3 separate regions of the Homo sapiens genome follow, and all the other regions are linked to region 1. Evidence: promoter capture Hi-C in human tissues and cell types (Jung and others, 2019). All regions are on one chromosome and are shown on one strand. The core of a region is centred on a gene start or on the middle of the fragment in contact, and the rest is flanking DNA. Distances in the headings are between cores, read along the strand shown. Region 1 holds the start of IGFBP4 (insulin like growth factor binding protein 4). Region 2 overlaps WIPF2 (WAS/WASL interacting protein family member 2). Region 3 overlaps WIPF2 (WAS/WASL interacting protein family member 2).

The links. Contacts are between HindIII fragments. The study calls those that stand out against the background at their distance.
Region 2: a fragment that was not itself captured here is called in contact with the fragment with the promoter of IGFBP4 in region 1 in 1 of the 25 tissues and cell types used here (spleen).
Region 3: a fragment that was not itself captured here is called in contact with the fragment with the promoter of IGFBP4 in region 1 in 2 of the 25 tissues and cell types used here (neural progenitor cells and spleen).

What each region holds. Positions count from the first base shown.
Region 1 is chr17:40,441,777-40,445,260 of GRCh38, reverse strand. It overlaps IGFBP4 (insulin like growth factor binding protein 4), which reads right to left and starts at 1,811. Exons shown (of 4, transcript NM_001552.3): 1 at 1,177-1,811. The coding sequence starts at 1,525. RefSeq lists silencers at 1,605-1,654, 1,665-1,714, 1,725-1,914. The HindIII fragment of the contact is 6,489 bases long and covers 320-3,484 here.
Region 2 is chr17:40,241,771-40,245,254 of GRCh38, reverse strand. All of the region lies in intron 1 of WIPF2 (WAS/WASL interacting protein family member 2), which reads right to left. It also overlaps the pseudogene RNY4P8. Among named protein-coding and RNA genes, the nearest start is that of WIPF2, 24 kb to the right of the region's middle. The HindIII fragment of the contact is 7,181 bases long and covers 1-3,484 here.
Region 3 is chr17:40,264,738-40,268,221 of GRCh38, reverse strand. It overlaps WIPF2 (WAS/WASL interacting protein family member 2), which reads right to left. Exons shown (of 8, transcript NM_133264.5): 5 at 3,076-3,484. Among named protein-coding and RNA genes, the nearest start is that of CDC6, 21 kb to the left of the region's middle. The HindIII fragment of the contact is 4,401 bases long and covers 1-3,484 here.

The sequences.
Region 1 (3,484 bases), core at 562-3,061:
AGACACAGAGAAACAGCAACAGAAAGAGAGGGAGAGAAGCAGAGCAACTGAAACAGAAACACAGAATAAGGTGGAGAAAGAAACGCACGATGGGCAGAAGACACTGAGGAAAACAGAACTCGAGAGCATGACTAGTGAAACTAGAGGTTGAGAGACAAATCAGGAAGAACAAAAGAGCAAGAGAAAGAAGGAAAAGAGACTGAGAGTCTAAGGAGAAACTGAGAAACAAAAAAAGAAAGTGTAAGAATGAGGTTAGGGCAAGGGCCTTCTCAGAGTCTCTCTCTCTCTCTCTCTCTCTCTCTCTCTCTCTCTCTCTCTCTCTCTCTCTGTCTCTGTGTGTGTGTGTGTGTGTGTGTGTGTGTGTGTGTGTGTGTGTTTCTCTCTCTCTCTCTCTCTCTCTCTGTTTCTCTCCCCTGGCGCCCTGGCCCCTTCTCTATTCCCTATCCCACACACATGAGGCTCCTGCAGCTCTCGGCTAGGAGCCAAGACTTTTCTACCACCTCAAATCCTACCTGCCTGGAGAAAAGAACAGGGGGCCTGTATACCAGGGCAGGCAGAGGTGTCCAGGCCTGGCAGAGGGACCCCTGTCTTCCCACTGCCTCTCAAACAACAAGGTGACCTGGCTCTGGGCTTTGGGGAAGGGCAAGTCTAATGCCCCTCAACGCCAAAGTCCCTCTAATTTGTATGTCCCACTCCACCACTGGACCATGTAAAAAAAAAGTTCAGGCCCTGGCTCCCCAGACCACTGGGATTTCACCCTCGGCCTGGATCAGGAACAGAAAGCTTTCCCCACTCCCTCATCCTCCCCAACACACACCCCACCACCATCCTCCAGTTCTCTGGCCCTAGACAGCTGACTTAACTGGACCTTAATCTGCCACTCCTGCACCAGCAGCCAGGCCTCCCACTGGGACCCCCTTATCAAACAGACAACCCTTGGAGGTTTGAGATGGAGCGATGGGACAGTCTCCCTTGGTGGTGGCAACAGGCTGCTAGGGACTCGGTAGCAGTTTCCTTGATGAGCCTGTCCCATGCCAGTCGGGCCCTGCCACGTACCTGCCTTCTCTTCAACTCATAGGGGATTTTTAAGGGCCTTCCAGGGCGGCTGGAATGGGGAAGAAGCCGCTGGGAAGGGAGCGCACTCAGGAGGGAATTGGGAGGCCAGGGGTACCTTACCAGAGGGCTGCAGGCTTTCCTGGATGGCCTCGATCTCCGCCAGCTCCATGCACACGCCTTGCCCGTGCATCAGTGTGTGCAGGGGCTTCTCCACCCCTCGGGGCGGGTAGCAGCGCAGGCCCGAGCCGCAACGGGGGGTGTACACCCCGCAGGGCATCCCCAAGCCCAGGGCGCAAGTGGCGCAACAGCCGCAGCCCGGCTCTCGCACCAGCTCCTCGCAGCCCACGGGGGGGCGGCAGCGCGCCAGCTTCTCCTCGGAGCAGGGCGGGCAGTGGATGGCTTCGTCGCCCAGGCTCGGCCCGGGCCCGGCGGCCAGCAGCAGGGCGGCCACGAGGCAGAGGGGCAGCATGACCGCCCGAGGACTGGGCGCGGGCGCGGGGCGCTGGGCGCAGGCGGGGAGCGCGGGCGCGCGGGCGAGCGGCGGAGGGCACACGGCGGCAGCGCCTGGCGCTCCTGGAGGACCCGACCCGGAGGGCGCGGGGAGACGGGGCGGCCCGGCGGGCGAACGGGGACGTAGCGGGGGAAGTTAGCAGGCGTGCCGGAGGGGAGCAAGCCTGGCCGCCGAGGCGCTGCGCCGCATCCTCGGCCCGGCCCAGGCAGGCGGCGGGCGGCGAGGGGCAGGGGGCTGAGCGGCTGCCCGGGACCGGCTCCCCCGGACTTTATACCGGTCCCTGGCCACACCCCCAGCGCCTTCCCAGAGGTGGGGGAGCCGGGGCGGGCGAGGGGGAGAGGGAGAGGCGGCCGTTAGGGGGAGGGGGCGCTGTCCTGAGTCGCCGCCGCCGCCGCCGCCGCATCTGAAAGTCCTTTTCTGCCGAAGAAGGAAGCGGCGCAGTTTGGAAGCTGTAGCAGGCGCCCAGAGTGCCTCTGAACCGGAGCCCCGGAGGGGAGGCAAGGGAGAAGGGAAGCCAAGGGGCTGCTGCGGGGCCCCCTTTCCCGACCTCGGAGGAGTCTCGTCCCGCCCCGCCAAGGCGGCCTCAGTCTCCCACCGAGAAAGGGACTTCCTAGCCCGGACTCCCGGCTCTGCGGATCCGGTCTTCCTGGACAGAGCCCTTTCCACCGCACCCCGGTGCTTCCAGCCTCAACCGCTGGAGACCAAGCCTCCTGAGGTGGGGTAAAGCGTACAGGCACAGCTAGGGGCACAGAAAGGCCTGGAGGCCCTAAGACGTTAACAGGCTCTTGCCACTTGCCCCTTGCAACCTCTCCCGCCCCCGCAATCTCCCCAGGGCGCATTTGGGCCCTGGTCCACCCTGCTTCCCCAAGATGGAATCAGCAGAACTCCCGGGGAGGGAGGTGCCGCCGAGCCTCTTCCTCCTTCTTGGATGTTTGCCTCTCAGGCCCATTCAGACCCACTCGTGGAGGGAGGCAGGCCTGGGAGATTGCCACTTGCAATGTGCAAGTTTTGCGTTGAACAACTCCAGTGGGGCACCATTCCTTGTAATCATTGTGTATTTGTAGAGCTGTTGTGATCATTTCCCAGATGGCAGTGAAGGATTTGAGGGGCCTGCAGCAGTGACTCACACCTGTAATGTCAGCACTTTTGGAGGCTGAGGCGGGAGGATCACTTGAGCCCAGGAGTTCAAGACCAGTCTGGGCAACGTAGTGAGACCTTGTCTCTACAAAAAAATTTTAAAATTAGCCAGGTGTGGTGGCGTTCACCTGTGGTCCCAGGTACTCGGGAGCCTGAGGCAAGAGGATCACTTGAGCCCAGGAGTTGGAGGCTGCAGTGAGCTAGAATTGTACCACTGCACACCAGCCTAGGTGAAAGAAGGAAACTCTGTCTAAAAAAGAAAGAAAGAAAGAAGGCCGGGCGCGGTGGCTCACGCCTGTAATCCCAGCACTTTGGGAGGCCGAGGCGGGCAGATCACGAGGTCAGGAAATCGAGACCATCCTGGCTAGCACGGTGAAACCCCCTCTCTACTAAAAATACAAAAAGTTAGCCGGGCGTGGTGGCGGGTGCCTGTAGTCCCAGCTACTAGGGAGGCTGAGGCAGGAGAATGGCATGATCCCGGGAGGTGGAGCTTGCAGTGAGCTGAGATTGCGCCACTGCACTCCAACCTGGGCGACAGAGCGAGACTCCATCTCAAAAAAAAAAAGAAAGAAAGAGAAAAAAGAAGGCCAGGCGTAGTGGCTCATGCCTGTAATCCTAGCACTTTGGGAGGCCAAGGTGGGCAGATCACCTGAGGTCAGGAGTTTGAGACCAGTCTGGCCAACACGGTGAAACCCCATCTCTACTAAAAATACAAAAATTAGCCGGGCGTGGTGGCGCATGCCTGTAATCCCAGCTACTTGGGAGGCTGAGGCAGAAGAA
Region 2 (3,484 bases), core at 368-2,867, 200 kb after region 1:
CATTCTAGTGTAAGAAGGAAGAAATAAAATCTCAGTATAACAGTTACTGATAAAAGGAGTAAAAAAAACAGAGAATCATAAAGGTAGAGTATAGGAATAGACTGGAATGTTCTTTTGTTTTACTTATTTATTTTTTAGAGATAGATTGTCCAGACTATGTTGCCTAAGCTGGTCTTGAACGTCTGGGCTTAAGCAATCCTCCAGCCTCAGCCTCCCCAGTAGCTGGGACTACAGCTGCCCAGGTTAGAGTCTTCCTTTGGATAGGGTTGCAGGCTTCAGGATCTAGGAGAATTTAACCACGACAACAACAAAATAGTAATAATAATGATAAAATAATACAGTCACAGGGAAAGGGCCATTGGGGGAGAGTATCTGGCTCTCCCAAGAAGTCTCTCCATGAGCAGAGCATGCCATGTAAACATCTGGGGAAAGAGCATTCCGAAAAGAAATAACAGCAAGTGAAAAAATTCTAACATGGGAATGTAGTTGGTGTGTTAGAGAACTAGTAAAAAGACCAGGATAGCTAGAACAGAGTGAGAAGAGATGAAATCTGAGGCTTTATATATAGGCCATCCTCCAAATCCAAAAGTAGTCCCCTTCTCTGTCCAATACACCAACACTGTAAAACCAAAGAAACCTAAATGAACCGACAGCTTCACACTCAAACCAGAAGTTCGATCGGTTATCTCATTAATCCCACAGACTATACTTGATCTCCTGGCTTAATCTCATCCAGAGACTAAGTACTAACTGAAGGCCTTCCAGGGTTAAAAGTCACCTGTTGGTAATCTGCCCACCTGTTCAGCTGTCCTTCAGCTTTGCTCCTGAAAAGCAATCCAGCATGGGAGGTAGGAGCTCATTACTACAATGGCATAATGGCATCCAGTCCCTAGGCCAAAGAACCCCAAAATGAGAAAAGAGCCAGGAGCTGCCTAAGAGTAGTCACATGCCACTCCAGGAGCCAACAACGGCAGGAACCAAACAGGTTCCTATAATCACACAGGGAATAATGTCAAGAGGAATGAAAAACTTGCCTCCATGTGTTCTAGGACAGACTATAACAGAGGGTTTCCACTAAAGTGTTTCTGGTTTCTCTAAAGTACAAGGAAACAGACTAGAATAACATTCATGTTACACACATTTTACCACTACCACTCCAAAAAAAGGCTTTTTCTATAGCTCACAGCCCTCTCCTCTCAATGGAGAAAGTGCCACCACTTCTTGAAATTCAATTCAGTCAAACCTCTGGTGAAACAGATTTCTATCACATGTAGAGATGGAATTAATTAAAATTCCAAGGTTACTTAAGGGAAAAAAATTTTTCAACTACAGAAATTTTCATCACAGAAATTCAACTATGCAGCAAATCTGACTGATCCAACAAGTAATAAAAAAAATCACATAACCATCATGAATATTAAAACTGAAAAATCGGGCCGGGCGTGGTGGCTCACTCCTGTAATCCCAGCACTTTGGGAGGTGGAGGTGGGTGGATCACCCGAGGTCAGGAGTTTTAGACCAGCCTGGCCAATACAGAGAAACCCCATCTCTACTTAAAAAAAAAAAATACAAAATTAGCCGGGTGTGGTGGCGTATGCCTGTAATCCCAGCTACTCAGGAGGCTGAGGCAGGAGAATTGCTTGAACCCGGTAGGCAGAGGTTGCAGTGAGCCGAGATGGCACCATTGCACTCCAGCCTGGGCGACAGAGCAAGACTCTGTCTTAAAAAAAAAAACCTGAAAAATCCTAGGACTTCTACAACAAATGAAACCTGGATGTTTTACTCCTCTCTGAAAGAGAAAATGAAGGAGGAAGAAGATATAACTACTGAATGATGAAATTCTTTCAAACATATTTTTTTAACAAAAACATAATGCATCCCCAAAACGCAGCTTTCCCCACTAATGTGACTCTTTCCTCTTCCCCCAGATTTTTTTTAAAGCCAGTCAAATTTAGCAGTGGGGGGTTTGTATACCAACTGCAGTGACACTAATGTTAATAAGCTCTGATAACCCACTACCATCAGACCAGCCCCAGATTATTTTTTTAAAGCCCTAAAAATGTAAATTCGGAAGACTACCTTCATATACTACCTTATGTGGTAAATATTAGATACTATGGGTTATTCCCAGATACAAGGCAGCCCAGGAGCTGAGTCCTCTCATCTAAAATGATGACAAATCAATGAGAAGTCTACTCCTGTGTTCAATTAAATAACCAGAGCTGCAAAGAAAGCTTCATTTAAAAAGACAGACTAGGAATAACTAATGCAAAAGCCATGTAAATTAAATATCTGAAAATCATCCAAAACAGAAGTCAGGGAATGACCTCACGCCCAACCCCTCAAGGCAAAGAAAAAATCTCATTATCCTGAAAGCACTGAAGTACAGCACTGGGAGATAGGCGGACGTGTACAGAAAATAGTCAACTGCAGTAAATCAGTAATAGTTCAAAGTCATGCCTTATAACACAGCCAGTGACCAATAATCAATGAGACAATAACACTTTCGATGTAGCTTTGTTTTTGTGACTTTGTTCATCAAAACTGTTTCTTGGCCAGGCACAGTGGCTCATGCCTGTAATCCCAGCACTCTGGAAGGCCGAGGCAGGTGGATTACCTAAGGTCAGGAGTTTGAGACCGGCCTGGCCAACATGGTGAAACCCCGTCTGTACTAAAAATACAAAAAAATTAGCCAGGCGTGGCGGCGGGCGCCTGTAATCCCAGCTACTCGGGAGGCTGAGGCAGGAGAATCACTTGAACTCGGCAGGCGGAGGTTGCAGCGAGCTGAGATTGTGCCACTGGGTAACAGAGTGAGACTGTCTCAAAAAACAAACCAACAACAACAACAACAACAAAAAATTTCTTGGTTTTTCTTTCTTTCTTCCTTGAGAAAGGGTCTCACCCTACAACCCAGATTGCAGTGCAAGTGGCACAATCACAGCTCACTGCAGCCTTAACCTCCCAGGCTCAAGCAATCTTCTCACCTCAGCCTCCCGAGTAGCTGGGACTACCACATCCAGCTAATCGTTTTATTTTGATTGCAAAGACAGGATCTCACTATGTTGCTCAGGCCAGTCTCAAACTCCTGACCTCAAACAATCCTCCTGCCATAGCCTTCCAAAAAACTGTTTCAATGGAAGTTGTAAAATTGTATTACAGCTATTTCTATAGAGCTGCTCATCTTAGAATGCAAATCAACTCTATGTCAGAGCCAACATGGCCTCCTCAGCTGTATTTTAGTTAATAACAGCCACAAGATTTCCAAGAACTGAGAACTAGGGTACCACAGTTAGCCTCTGCAACACTGCTAAGACAAGTACTATTTGGCTCTTAACCTCTAAGCAATTCACAACCAAGGAGCAGCTGCAAACACATTTCCAGATACTTTACAGACTGGCAGCAAAAGATACAACCCTTTTTCTTTTCTAGGCGTAGGAATCTATAATACAAAAGGGAGAATTGTGTCCTTTTGATTGTAAAGTTA
Region 3 (3,484 bases), core at 705-3,204, 180 kb after region 1:
ACAAAGAAGCTGCACACAGGTTAATGGACTTTTAATGCCTTGCTACTTAATGATATAACCTTTACCCTTTTTTTGGGACAACGTCTTGCTGTGTTGCCCAGGCTGAAGTGCAGTGGCACTAATACAGCTCACTGCAGCCTCCACCTCCCAGGCTCAAGTGGTCTTCCCACCTCAGCCACTCAAGTAGCTGGGACTACAGGCATGCACCGCCATGCCAGGCTAATTTTTTAAAATTATTTTTTGTAGAGACAGGGTTTTGCCATGTTGCCCAGGCTGGTCTCGAACTCCTGGGCTTAAATGATCTGCTGGCCTCAACCTTCCAAAGTGCTGGGATTAAGGCGTGAGCCATCATGCCCAGACTCCATGACATAACTCCTTAATCAATGTTCTATACCTGTAGAAACTGACTTTAAAATAAAAGCTAAGGGCTGGGCGCAGTGGCTCACTTGAGGTCAGGAGTTTGAGACCAGCCTGGCCAACACGGCGAAAACCCGTTTCTACTAAAAATACAAAAATTAGCCAGATATGGTGGCACATGCCTGTAATTCCAGCTAGTCAGGAGGCTGAGACACAACAATCACTTGAACCTGGGAGGAAGAGGTTGCAATGAGCAGAGATTGCACCACTGCACTCCAGCCTGGGCGAAAGAGCAAGGCTCTGTCTCAAAACACAAACAAACAAATAAATAAATAAAGGCCAAGAAGCTGTTTGTGGAGGGTATGTCTCAAAGTCTAATGATACAACGATATGGGAGCCAAAATTCCCATGTCCAATAAGGCCCCAGAGAGCTGTCACGGTCTCCCTCACTCTAAAATTTCAGTTATGCTAATTATAACGAGATTACACAACCTCTTCTTTTTCCAGGGTTCCTAAATTCCCTCCTCACCCAGCTTAGGCTCCATTATTGCAATCACTCCCTCACATACACCCTTCCCTTCCTGCCCCACTCTCCCTTAGAGTCGCACATGCCTAAAACATGCTAACGCTGGTTAAACACAGCTCTACTCTTTTTCTGTACCTGCAAATCACAACTGAACACATGAGACTAATTAATCTCACATGAAATGTATGGCCCATAATCTCAAGTGGGCCCTTCGCGTGGTTGCCTATCTGAGCACACTTCCCTAGTCCACCCACACTCCCACGCTCCAGATGACCATTTCATGCCTCTTCTCTCTCCTCAACTCTCCTTCTCCTTCCCTCGCCTCAATCACAGCTGATGCTCTTGCTTTCCATTTCACTGAGAAAACAGAAGCAAATTAGAATAAACTTTCCACATGCTTCTACCACTACACCCACCTACCCACTTGCTTCTAAGCCTATATGCTCTGCCTCCCCTCTTGTTACTATGGAAGAACTATGTTCCTATCTAAGGCCAACCCTTTTTATCTATCGATCACATTCTCTTTTCTCTGGCCTCCTCCAGGTCATTATTCAGGCAATCTGTTCCCTCTCTTCTGATTCAATTTTTTCCCTCTCTCCTAAGTTTCATGCTACTCATTCCATCAGCATACAAATAGGTCTCCCATCTTGGGATGGGAAAAAAACAACTCTCAACCCCACATCTTCGTCCAACAATCACTTCACTTATCTTCACCCCTCTCTCCTGGACTTTACAGCGAACTCTTTAAGAGATTTCTATATTGCTATCTCCAATTTCTCTCCTCCTATTCCTGCATTCTTGAACCCACTCCAATTAAGCTTTCACTTTCACCCTCCACCACTCCACTGAAACTACTCAAAAGGGTCCCATGATACTAAGACCAATGCCAGTTCTTGGTCTTTAACTTACCTGACCCATCTGCAGCACTGGGCACAGCTGACCACTTACTCTACCTTGGAGTTTTTCCATCACATTCTTGGTTTTTCTCCTTCCATCCTCACTAGAAGCTTTTCTGTTTCCTCTGCTGGGTATTCTTCATCTCTTTTGCCTCTAATGTAGGAGGGCGAGGGCTCAGCCCTCATTTTTTTTTTTTTTTTTTTTGAGATGGACTGTCACTCTGTCGCCCAGGCTGGAGTGCAGTGGCGTGATCTCGGCTCACTGCAACCTCTGCCTCCTGAGTTCAAGCGATTCTCCTGCCTCAGCCTCCTAGGCCTCTTCTTATCTATATTCACTCCTTAGGTGACTTCATCCAGCATGTGGTTTTCAACACCATTCAAATGTATCTCTCTAGCCGAAACCTCTCCCCTCAACTTTGGAGTCTGATAGCCAATTACCAATTCATTGTCTCTTCTTGATTACCTAACAGGCATCTCAAACTTGTCTCAAACTGAACACCTATCTTCCCACAAATTCACAGTAGTCCTAACCATCTGGCCGTTTACTGCAACAGCCCAGTAACTGGTCTCCTTTTGTCACCTTTGTCCTCCTGCGGTCTGTTCTCAACATAGGAGTTAATGATCTTTTTAAAAGGTGAATCAAATCATACTACTTCTCTGTTTAAAACCCTCCAGTGGCTTCCCATCTCACACAGTTAAATCCAAGGTCTTTGCAAAATCCTGCAGTGCGCTCTCCCCTGCAGCTCCAGCTTTCCAACCTCCAAGTCCTACCACTCTTCCCTCCCCTCACTCTTTGTAGTCTTGCCACAATGGCCCCCTTGCTGTCCCCAAAATGTTTCAAGAATACTTCTGCCTTATGGCCTCTGCATTTGTTGTTCCCACTGCCTGCAACAGCTGTTCTCCTAGATAACTACTAAGCTTACTCGTCACTTTCTTAAGGTCTTTGTCAAATTTTCACCGTATCAGTAAGGACTGTCCTGACTCTCTCCCCACTCCTCCAATTAAAGATATCATCATCCCGACCTCCGCCCCAGTATATCTTATTCCTCTCCTCTGCTTTGTAATTCTCTAAAGCATACTGCATACTATGTATTTATATATTTTACTAGTTTGACTGTCAAATTTTTTTGTCTTTTCTATTTATTGCTATTTCCCTACCAACAGACCTGACACATAAAAAGGTACTCAATAAACCCACTGAGTGAATAAACGAATTACTGTCTTCAAGGAGTGCTCTGGGGAAAGATAAAATCAACTCACAGCATGATAGGGAAAAAGGTGCTTCCAAGCACTTACCTGCTCCCCGACTGGGAGGGTCTCGGGCTGGGGGAGGTGGCCTATTACTCAGTAAAGATGGGGAGGCCGAGGTGGGTGGAGGAGGTGCTAGGCCTCTGACAGGCCCTGGTGTCTTCCTATGCAAAGAATTGTGTCTCTGTGGCAGCTCAGGGGCTGACTCATTAGTGGGGCTAGAGGGTCCATTGGGGACCCCAGGAGGCTGGCGGTAAGGCGGAGGAGGAGGAGCCAGAGACTGGCCACTTGGTCCTGTTCTGATATTCACAGGGGAAGGAGGTGGTTTGACTGGGGGTGGAGCAGGAGGTCCCTCTCGACCAGGGTGAAGCCTTTGTCCAGGCGTCGGTGGCAAGGGTTTCTCTCTGTTGTAGGCGGGGGCTTTGCTGCTGTGCATAGGCAGAGGTGTGGGGGGTGC